Linked DNA regions of Homo sapiens: region 2 is linked to region 1. The links are contacts of gene promoters, found by promoter capture Hi-C in human tissues and cell types (Jung and others, 2019). All regions are on one chromosome and are shown on one strand. Each heading gives the region's core, a stretch centred on a gene start or on the middle of the fragment in contact. The rest is flanking DNA. Distances are from core to core; before and after follow the strand shown.

The links. Contacts are between HindIII fragments. The study calls those that stand out against the background at their distance.
Region 2: a contact is called between a fragment that was not itself captured here and the fragment with the promoter of TAF4B in region 1, in 5 of the 25 tissues and cell types used here (bladder, mesenchymal stem cells, mesendoderm cells and 2 more).

The regions. Positions count from the first base shown.
Region 1 is chr18:26,224,620-26,230,056 of GRCh38, reverse strand. It overlaps TAF4B (TATA-box binding protein associated factor 4b), which reads right to left and starts at 3,612. Exons shown (of 15, transcript NM_005640.3): 1 at 2,781-3,612. The coding sequence starts at 3,123. RefSeq lists a silencer at 2,973-3,132 and enhancers at 3,783-3,882, 3,913-3,982. The HindIII fragment of the contact is 12,633 bases long and covers 1-5,437 here.
Region 2 is chr18:26,268,045-26,273,941 of GRCh38, reverse strand. All of the region lies in intron 3 of TAF4B (TATA-box binding protein associated factor 4b), which reads right to left. Among named protein-coding and RNA genes, the nearest start is that of TAF4B, 45 kb to the right of the region's middle. The HindIII fragment of the contact is 4,978 bases long and covers 800-5,777 here.

The DNA of each region.
Region 1 (5,437 bases), core at 2,363-4,862:
GCATTCTTTTTATTTCAAGCTCCTGCTCCCTAGAAAAACCTGTGGTGCATATATATGTATATGTGTGTGTGTGTGTGTATATATATATATATTTTTTTTTTAAACCAGTTCTGTTCATAGATGAAACTCTGAAGTAAAGAGAATCAAATACTTAAAGTATTCATTATCTTGAAAAATGAAGAACTGACATATATAAGCACCCTTGTGTAATCAAGTGCTAATTCTTGGTATGCAAAGGAAATAGTACAAGATTCAGGCCAGCGCAGTGGCTAACGCCTGTAATCCCAGCACTCTGAGAGACCGAAGCAGGCTGATCACTTGAGGTCAGGAGTTCGAGACCAGCCTGGCCAACATGGTGAAACCCCATCTCTACTAAAAATACAAAATTTAGCCGAGCATGGTGGCGTGTGCCTGTAATCCCAGCTACTCGGGAGGCTGAGACGGGAGAATTGCTTGAACCCGGGAGGCGGAGGTTGCAGTGAGCCGAGATTATGCCACTGCACCCCAGCCTGGGCAACAGAGTGACACTCCGTCTCAGAGAAAGAAAAAAAAAAAAAAAAAAGAAAGAAAGAAAGATATAAAAGAAATAGTATAAGATTCATAACCTTTTTAAAAAGTTACTTTAATCAGTGTTTCCATTTTATTCTTCAACTATTGGTTATCTTATTCTATCCAATAAGAGCACAAATGTAGTTAGTACACCCTTCTGCCACACGTCAGCAGAAAATTCCCAAAAGCAAATCCCCACTTCCTCTATAACGACCAATTCCTAAAGACAACTTATCTTCTTTCTCTCTTTTGTATGGGTTTCTCAGAGGTAAATAGCATGCAATGTTTTAATACAGTGCTAGGAACATAATTAGACTATGGTCCTAGTATGCTATTATTTTAACTCTGCCAAGTTTCAGTTTTGGTTCCTTGGTATATAAAATAAAAGACTGGAATCTAAAGTTCTCTGAATCACCTTTCAGTACTGACACTCAATGAGGCATACCGTACACATACAAGTAAAAAAATAAGCATAGCGTTGTGGAAAGAATAAACAGACCTGAGCTAAAACTCCCCCGACACCTATGGGTTGCCTGGCATTGGACAAATTATTTACTCTTAGAGACCTCTTTCCTTATTTGCTACCTACCTATTATGACCAACAAATAAAAGAATATAAATAATTTGTTAAAAGTGCTTAGCATGATAAGGCCCCAATCCTCCAGTAAGTGATTCACTCTCACTTACCAGCAAATTTTCACTCTTGACAGTTCTTTCTTTGGGGGGTTGGGGAGGGATGGGGAGGAACAGAGTCTCACTCTGTTGCCTGGGCTGGAGTGCAGTGGCAAGATATCTTGGCTTACTGCAACCTCCACCTCCCGGGTTCAAGCGATTCTCGTGCCTTAGCCTCTCAGACAGTTCTTTCTTAATACTTTTTTTTTTTGACTATTTATAAACAAACTTCAGTGACTAGACAGGATTTACAGTTTAACAAATTAGGGGGTAATTTCATTCTAACACATTCAGAACTACTTTATAAACATATATGCAGAATAACAACTCAGAATAACAATTTAGAACTGCCAAATAATGTATTCGGTGCTGCACACTGCCGTAACAGTGCCTTAACAATTTTACATACCTTGTATACCATATAAAACTGAAACAGAACTTCATAAAAAGTGAAATCTATCCACAACGTGTATGACTAACTACAACATTAGATACAAAAAGGGTCCCTGTCATTTTATTAGGGGATATAGAATCTTTTGAATCAATGCTTCCCCTTTTTTACCATCTTTGCAGTTCAGAGTTCCAATTACTGCTAAACAAAATTAACAGAAAGCAAACTCCAAGAGACTTTCAGTAAAGAAAGGCTGAACACCCCAAAATCATTCAGCATATTTACAATATGTAAATTATCACAAAGCAAAACCTTTATACAAACCATGAAATACAGCCCAATAGAGTAAAAAGCCCTAGGATAGAAAGTAGTGAAAGACTCATTAACAGTAGCGTTGACACATGGCTTCAATTGCAACTGTAACAATTGCATGACTGATCTGTTTGTCAACTGTGGCACGTGTTCCCAGTCAGGGGTTCTGCTAATTGAAAGTTAGAATCATAAGACATTTAAAGATTGTGCAGGAACAGCATTATTCGTACTTGGTACTAGAAAGCAGTAAACCGATTCTGACTTGGTTAAATTTAAAAATCTCTTTCAGTTGTAATACACAAGAACTTCACTGTTAGGCCGTACGCGGTGGCTCACGCCTGTAATCCCAGCACTTTGGGAGGCCGAGGCGGGAGGATCGATTGGGCCCAGGAGTTCGACGTCGGTGAGCCATGATCGTGTCACTGCACTCCAGACTGGGCGACAGAGCGAAACCATACCTCATTCGTTCATTCATTCATTCATAATTAATAAAATAAGTACAACGCACTTCTACATAATCTAAGCGTATGGAAATCCACGGTATAAACCGGTCCATCCTCCACATGGAAATTAACTTCGGCTATATTATCTCCTCCACCTAAGAGCCAGTGCCTGAAAGCCCCCCCGAATACGCTGATGTAGCTTTTTACTGTATCACTTAGGTGAAAAGATTCTTTCCTTAAATATGAAAAGAAAAACTATGTAGTAATGACACAAAAAGAATATGTTAACTGTAAAGTCAAGATTATGAAATGTTCCCGTGGCTCAGTTTTTTTAGGAGCAATCTGGAGCTGCGAATTTTCCCGTCGCCGCCAGCTGGACCGACAGACAAGGCTGGAAAGGGTTATCAACATACCTGGAGGAAGCTGCAAATTAGCAGGAAACTGGATTGTCGTGGTGTTGGGGGCTTTCACGGCGACTATCTGAGGAGCAGGCAGCCTAGGGCCGCTGCTGACTTTAGGAGGGGCGCTGACCGGAGCCACTTTGGTCACCAGGGTCCCCACGGGGGACCGCAGGGGCTGGGACGCCGTGGGCTCCACGCAGACGCTGACAGGAGCCTTAGTCACGGCGCCCAGGGCCACCGGAGTGCTCTCCACCCGCACCGGCAGCGCCCCGGCCGGGGCCATGGTCACGGTCCCCGAGGCGCTCACAGCAGCCGGGGGAGCGGCGCCGGCGGGTTCGGTGAGGCCGGCGGGCATCCCCCAGGGGCTCAGCGGCAGCTTTGGCGCTGCGGTTCCGGGAGCAGAGGTGAGGGGAGGCTTGGCGCGCGGCAGCCGACTCCGGTGCGGTTCGGGTTCCACAGCATCGCTGGGGAGAGGCGCGGGGGCCGCAGCAGCGAAGTCAGTGACGGGCGCCCGCTGCACGGCAGGACACGCGCGTCCCGGACCTTCCTCTCGTCCGCGCGAGCCTGGGCTGCCCCCGGAGCGACACCCGCCCGACCTCTCGCAGCTTCCTCAGCGGCGCTCACACGTGCGCTGCCTCAGCCCTGCGCCTCAGGCTCGGGTCCCGCTGCGGGGGAGCCTGGACTTGCGGCTCCCGGAAGGTCGTCGCTCACACCTCGAGCCTAACTGCGCAGCTGCTCCCCCGCCAGAAATTTCAAAACTACGAACCCCGAGTGCCCACAGCCCCCTACGCGCGATTGGCACGGCCCCGCCGCGCGGCCACGCCAGCCATGTTTATATAGCCACGCGGAGACCTCGCGCACGCGCCCAGGCCGCCGCCACCGCCCCGGGTTTCCCCGGGATCCGGCCGCGTGATTGGCCAAGGAGCGGAGCCGCGCCCGTGACGTCACTGGGGACGGCTCCAGGGAGCGTTAAAATCTTCCCCAGAATCGCCAGCAAGGAGGGGCGATGCCAGAAACCTATCACGTGGGAGGGGCAAGCTGCACTTGGAAAACTGCGGCATCCGTGTTCCTCTCCTTGTGTCCCCTGTAGTGTGTTCCTCGAAAAGCCAGCACTAGACTATCTCCAGGATTCTATTTTTTAAGGAGAAAATGGGGAGGACTGATTTCCGAGAAGAGTGACTCAATAAGAATTCAATCACGCATTTTCAGTGTTTTTCTCTGCTGTCTTCACACTGAAGCGTTGCTAAAATTCGCAGTTAGAATTGACATTGTAAAAATTAAAATGGCGTATAGTTTTATAGTCTGTGAGATGTGCCTATTTTCATATTTTAGAGTTAAACTGCCTAAAATCTTAAATGGAAAATCGTTTCTTCTTTGGTGCTGCTATAGGTGTCTCTATCACCTCTAAACATTAAAATTGTATGTCTGTCTTCTGAAAAACTTAATGCCTTTTGATATCTATATAATTAGATTCTAGCACTTAGATATTAAGCGTGATCCTAGATATTATCTGGATAAATAAAAGGTGTTGAGTGAATCGATATGAAAAAACTTGCCTGTTTGTAATGCAGTCAGAGAAGATGCCTTAATTTCAAGCTAAAGTCATTATATTGTATGTTTGTAGGAACCAACACTGCACTGAAAGGCGATTTTACAAGTAGGCAGATGCTATGATCTGAATGTTGTGGTGTTTTGTTTTGTTTTGTTTTGTTTTGTTTTGTTTTGGAAACAGGATCTAACTCTGTCACCCAGGCTGGAGTGCAGTGGCACCATTGGCTCATTGCAGCCTCCACCTCCTGGGCTCAAGTGATCATCCTACCCTCCTACCTCAGATTCCCGAGTAGCTGGAACCACAGGGGAGCGGCACTATGCCTAGCAAAAACGGGATCTCGTTATATTGTCCAGGCTGGTCTCCAATTCCTGAGCTCCCGCCTGGGCCTCCCAAAGTGCTAGGATTATACCCCCAACTGAGTGTTAAAATGCTAAAGCTGGAGTTGATAATATTAGAAGGTTGGGCCTTTGAAAGGTGATTAGATCATAAGGGTGGAGCCCTCATGAATGGGATTCCATTCAGGACAAATCATGTTAAAGTGATGAATATGTTAACTTGATTTAATTATTTCACGACACATACAAATGTAACATGATACCTCATAAATACATACAATTATTATTTGTTAGTTAAATACATTAAATAAATAATTTTTTTAAAAAAAGAAACCTCAGAAAGATCCCTCACCCCTTCCAGCAAGTGAGGTTATGGTAAAAAGACTGCTGTCTAGAAAGTAGACTCTCATCAGATACCACATCTGCCTTGATCTTGAACTTCCCAACCTCTGGAATTATGGGACATGAATTTCTCTTTTTATAAGCTACCCAGTTTATGATATTTCATTATAGAAGCCCGAGTGGACTAAAATAGCAGGCAACCTGATGGTTACAGCTCCTGCTTTTCCCCCTCTCTGTAAACGTGTGCCGGCACGTTTAGATAAGATCTACTCACAAGATCTAGTAAAGTCCACACACTTACTACCTTTACTGTCTCTCACTTCTTGACCAGTCTAAATCCATCTCATGACCTAAACCAATCACCCTCCCTTTCTATGGTGAATTCCCTGATCACTTACCTTCTAGCAAATGCCTCAAAGTGGAGTTGGGGAGAGAAAAAC
Region 2 (5,897 bases), core at 2,039-4,538, 44 kb before region 1:
CAGGGATAAGGAATAGTATTTACATACAATTCACACAGAAAACTGAACAATGCACCATCATTTAATTTAAATGTCTATGTTCTACAAGCATGCAACACAAAAAGGTCAAGTTGCAATCACCTTCAAGAAAATTTCCTTCTATAATAGTCAAGATAGGTGAATTTGAATGTACAATAAAATCTCCCACATTAGAGAGACTGGAATATGTACTAGACAAGAATGTTCTGAGGGTAAAAAATGGGAAGAAGGACAAGTGCAGTGGCTCACACTTACAATACCAGCACTTTGGAAGGCTGAGCCAGGAGGATTGCTTGAGGACAGGAGTTCGAGACCAGTCTGGGTAACCTAACAAGACCCTGTCTCTAGAAAAAAATTTTCTTTACAAACAGGAAGAACATTTAAAATGCTGAGAATTGATAGAAGGAGAGGAGTGGGGACACATGGTGGCCCTAACATGGGTTTGGGGTATATGGGCCTTCATTTTACTATTATTTTTTTCAACAGCAGACATATTACATATGTGTACATATTACATATGTGTACATATCACATGTAGTCTTGTTTGCATGTATATTTCATAATGCATAATAAAAATATTAAATACCATATGCTAATACATTTGAAACAAAACCAAAAGGGTTTTTGGAAAAACATGAAATGACAAAATTAGCACAAAACACAGAAACTAGAATAGACAAATTAAAGACATTGAAATGATACCCAAAAAGACCTCCCTCCCTCAAGTCTCCAGGCTCAGATATTTTCCATGTGATTTTTCCACACTTTTGCATAACTCCTGTCTTATACAACATGTTCTAGAAAAACAGAATAGGGAAAGCTGTTCAGTTCATTTTATGAGAAAGGTCTGTAACATATTTCAATATTGAATAAGGATAATAAAAGAAAAGTAAACTAAAGGCTCACCTGGCAAAAACTTTAATAAGATTTTAAAATTACTGATTAATGATGAGGACTAGAACAATAAAGTTTTTAACAAAAGAGATAAAATTAAAAATTACACCTAAGTTAGTACAATTTTGTTAAATATAGAGCCTCAAATGCACATTCAAAAGGAAGTCTCCCTCCTTTTCATATCTTTAGTCCTGCTCTCCAACCTACCACTCAGTTTCTTCTGAATTCTTGTGGAGATTTTCTAATAAATTTTTAGTTTTCTATACAGTAAATAAGCCTCTTTCTTTAGTCTATCTTATAATCAGTCATTAACTCTCTGTACTGCCATATTTAAGAAAGTGTAATCTGGAATTTTAGCTGGTGGTTATGATCACCTCTGAGGACTGATGGGAGAGGTTCCTTGGGGGTGTACTGTCCCCCTCCCTCAGGAAGCAAACTAAGGTCCAACTGAAATGTGAGTTTAGGAAAAACGTCCTATCGTTTACAAGTAGAGGGGGCATTTATGGAATTCTATTTTCCTTGTCAATGTTTTATCCTGTCTCCAGTAAAAAAAAAATCTGTCCTTCATAACACTTTCTAGTATAGCTACTACTTGTATCTTACCACAGGGGTCCCCAACCCCTGTGCCGCGGGCGGGTATAGGTCTGTGGCCTGTCAGGAATAGAGACACACAGAGGAGGCAAGTGAGCATTACTGCCTGAGCTTTGCCTCCTGTCAGGCCAGCGGTGCCATTAGTCTCATAGCAGCATGAACCTTCTCGTGAACTGCACATGCAGGTGATTTAAGCTGCACTCTCCTCGTGAGAATCTAATGCCTGATGATCTTGATAGACGCAACCGGAAGATTAGGGGAAAGGTTCCAGAAGAATCCCCCACGCGCCTGCCCACTGGGAGGAGGAGGGGTGGAGCCTCAGGAAGATCAGGCCCTTTGCAAGGGGGAGGAGCCTGGCCTCTCCTGTTCCTGTGTGGTGACCCGAGATTCAATTTGTGAGATGGGGGCCTGCTAACGGGAACCCCTCTGGCTTTGCTGAGTTTTTTTTTTCTTTTCGCCTAATAAATTCCATTCCCCCTCACCCTTAAAAGTGTCTTTTTTTTTTTTTTTTTGAGACGGAGTCTGGCTCTGTCCACCAGGCTGGAGTGCAGTGGTGCGATCTCGGCTCACTGCAATCTCCGCCTCCTGGGTTCAAGTGATTCTCCTGCCTCAGCCTCCTGAGTAGCTGGGATGAGAGCCGCCCCCCACCACACCACCCGGCTCATTTTTGAATGTTTAGTAGAGACAGGGTTTCAACATGTTGGCCAAGCTGGTCTCAAACTCCTGACCTCAGGTGATCCACCTGCCTAGGCCTCCCAAAGTGCTGGGATTACAGGTGTGACTCACCATGCCTGGCCCAAAGTGTCTTAAACTCAATCACAACTCCGCCTTTGACTCAACAGACCAGCCAATGGTAACTTCAATGCTTTTCAAGGCTGCACTGACTGACTAGGCATGTCTTGAGGACAGGAGGAAAACGGACTGAAGTATATGTGAAATAAATGTGTGAAAACCAATTCTACACAGAGCCAATAAAATGAGTTGTATGGAAATTTAGAAGATGAAATAGCATTTCAAGGAGGGTCATTTTCTGTACCTGTCTGAAACAGCAATTGCTTTAGGTTTATTCACATTTAATTAGAAATACTAGTCATTTGCACATTAGATTCCAATCTAACAATGGGCCAAACTACATCTTCATCAAATACAAGGTAAAAGTGAACACAAGATTTCTAACTAGTTCTTGTGTTATATTTATCAGACTAAGCCTAATAGGAAAATACTTTCAAAATTTCTTAACACACACATTTGCATTTACAGTCTGACAATCAAGTACAAGGAGTTGTATCTTCTCTCATTTTTAAGTTCTAGCTCCTTATTTCCATGCCTAAAACTGAGATGCTTATCCCTTAAAGTGGACAGATATCATTAACTTCATTCTTTACTAATTTCCACTGTTCTAGGCTACCACTAAGGAGTAGCCCAACTTAAAATATGCATCAACCTAAATTAGCTAAGAAAAATAAATGGTCCACACAAAAATATCAATGACAGATTAACATGAGCATTTTAAAATAACTACAAACACGAGGAAACATACAAATTTCAATTATTTCTATTGTGACAAAGTCACAGATATGTACTAACACAATGTAATACTCCATGGTTCTGTAGTTTGAAGCCTACATTTGTAGCTGAAAGAAATTCTAAGTTTTAGTTTAAGCTTAGTAAAGATTTTCCCCCTCAAAATGGTTCCATAGTTTGAAGCCTACATTCATAGTTGCAAGAAACTCTAAGTTTTAGTTTAAGCTTAGTAAAGATTTTCCCCTTCACCTGAATTCACAGGCTCCAGGTTGTCTCTTTTATAAAAACTACTAATAAAGGCTGGGTGCAATGGCTGATGCCTATAATCCCAGCATTTTGCAAGGCAGAGGCGGGAGGATTTGCTTGAGCCCCAGGAGTTCAAGAACAGCCTGGGCAACAGAGTAAGACCTCATCTCTATTTTTTAAATAAAGTAATTTTTTTAAAAACTACAAATATAATTAGTGATCACTGGCTATGATTACTAAGTAAATGAACACAAGCTTTCATGTTCTAGAACTATTAAGACTTCAACGAATATTCAGAGAGCACAGAAATAGAATTGTGGCTGTAGCTGGCAGGGGACAAATTAAAGCCCATGGATGTAGAGAATCCCTAATACACTCTAAGAAGTAATATCCAAGAAACTCACTTTACCACTAAACTGGCTCCCAAAAGGGCCCTGAAGAAGTAGTGTAATGGAGTTCCTTCAGTTATCCCAGCACAACATAATTTGCTCTCTGTGTCCTGAAGAGCCATAATGTGCAAATGGCAGTCTTAAGTATCTAAGATCATGTTGCTAAGTATGTTTTCTCTCCACAATATATTTTTTTAACCTGTGGTGTTATTTATGTACTCAATCTTTAAGAACTATATCCAATGAAAAACTGATATACTCGAAGTACTGATAGTCTAAAGTGGTTAACTTCTTCATAAAACAATATGATAGTAGCTATCAATAGGCCTAAATTTATATTCTTTGGCCCAATAATCTCCTTAAAATTTATCCTAAGGAAAAAAATACAGTAGGTTTTGAGATAATCAGTACATAGGTCATTAAGAACAGTTTCCAGAGTCAGATAAAGGCTCAAATCCTCACTCTGCCACATACTAGCAGAAATCAAGCAAGCTTCTTAACCTCTCATATAAAATAGAGATAACACTTCCTTATAGTATAGTCACAAGGATGAAATGAGATGAATGTAAGGCACCTAAAAAAGTGTCAAGCATGTTAAGTGACAACAAATGGTATTAGTAGAAAAATATTACGTTTAAAATCAGATTCACTGCTCATCATTTCTGTTAGATGAAAAGAACGTGAGCAGTATGGTTCAAGTTTGGAACACCAAAAGAAGGTCTGATCTACTAGCATGGGATTCCAGGTAGCAGGCTCCAAGAAGATGCATAGTCCCAGGACTATCAGATCCACTGGTTTCATCACATATGTCTTGACTCGGAAACTAGGAGTCTAGTAAAATATTAGAACAGCCAGCAAGAGGTACAGGTGAAGTACAAACATAGAGGCAATACTCTATGAGTATGGGATTCCATCCTCCAAGACTCAGCATACTCATTGAATCAAAAATTTCCATATAGTACTATGTCCCCAACAGGACAAACCCATAGATCAAGGAATCAAGGAGAAGAAGCATGAATGGCCCCCACTTACCATCACTCACAACAAACACTCACTGGAGGACTTTGTGTTTCCCATTTCTGCCCACAGGAAGCAAACACCTCTACCAGAGGACAAAGCAAGAGTTCCTGTAAATAGACACTAAGAACAGACACTAAGAGTCGGGTGCGGTGGCTCATGCCTGTAATCCCAGGACTTTGGGAGGCTGAGGTAGGCGGATTACTTGGTCAAGAGTTCGAGACCAGCCTGGCCAACATGGTGAAACCCCATCCCTACTAAAAATACAAAAAATCAGCTGGGCATGGTGGCACACACCTGTAATCCCAGCTACTTGGGAGGCTGAGGCAGGAGAATCACTGGAACCCAGGGAGTAGGGGTTGCAGTGAGCCAAGATTGCACCACAGTGCTCCAGCCTAGGTGATAGAGTGAGACTCTGTCTTCAAAAATAAAATAAAATAAAACAAAACAAAATAAAAAATAAATAAAATAGACACTATGGCTGCACTATGGTTCCTTGTAACCATGATCCAGCAGGAAAGACAGGAGTAATTATCTTAGGAAGAGTAATCGACTCCCATCATCTGGAGGAGGTAGGGTTGCTATTACGCAATGGAGGCAAAAAGAAGTATGTGTGGCAAATCCACATGATTCAGGTGATTCACTTAAATGCCTCCTTGTATTTCCTTGCCCAATTGTGATGATAAATAGACAAGCCGTAGCAACCCTGACCTCAAATGAACATGGTTATTAAGACCACAGATCCCTCAGGGATGAGGGTCTGGTCGTTATCATTTAAGTTAACAAAGACCAGTATAGTTGGTAGTTGAGGGGAAGGGAATCTAGGAAGGCACAGTGGAAGAGGGAAATAATTAATATCAGGTGCCACCAGAAACCAGCTGCAGCAGTGGGGACTGTAGTTCATCGTATTAGCCTCCTCTTTGTTTCCCCAAAGACGAAAACCATGAGAATCCCAGAACAGCTGATCTCCAACATGTATGAGGAAACACATACAAGTGATGCAAGGAGTAGCCTGTGATGAACCATGACAAGGAGTGATATGTACTGTCCTAGCTAGCTGCTAGGAATGATATTAGACAGCCTCCATTTATAAGTTCCATCAGGCTTCCCTCAGCTGCAGAGGATCACCTTGCCCAAAGGTAACTTTCCCAGGAAAGTCCACATCCAGTGACTGAACAGAGAGTAGGAATTAAGGCCCAGCCAACCATGTTAACCCAT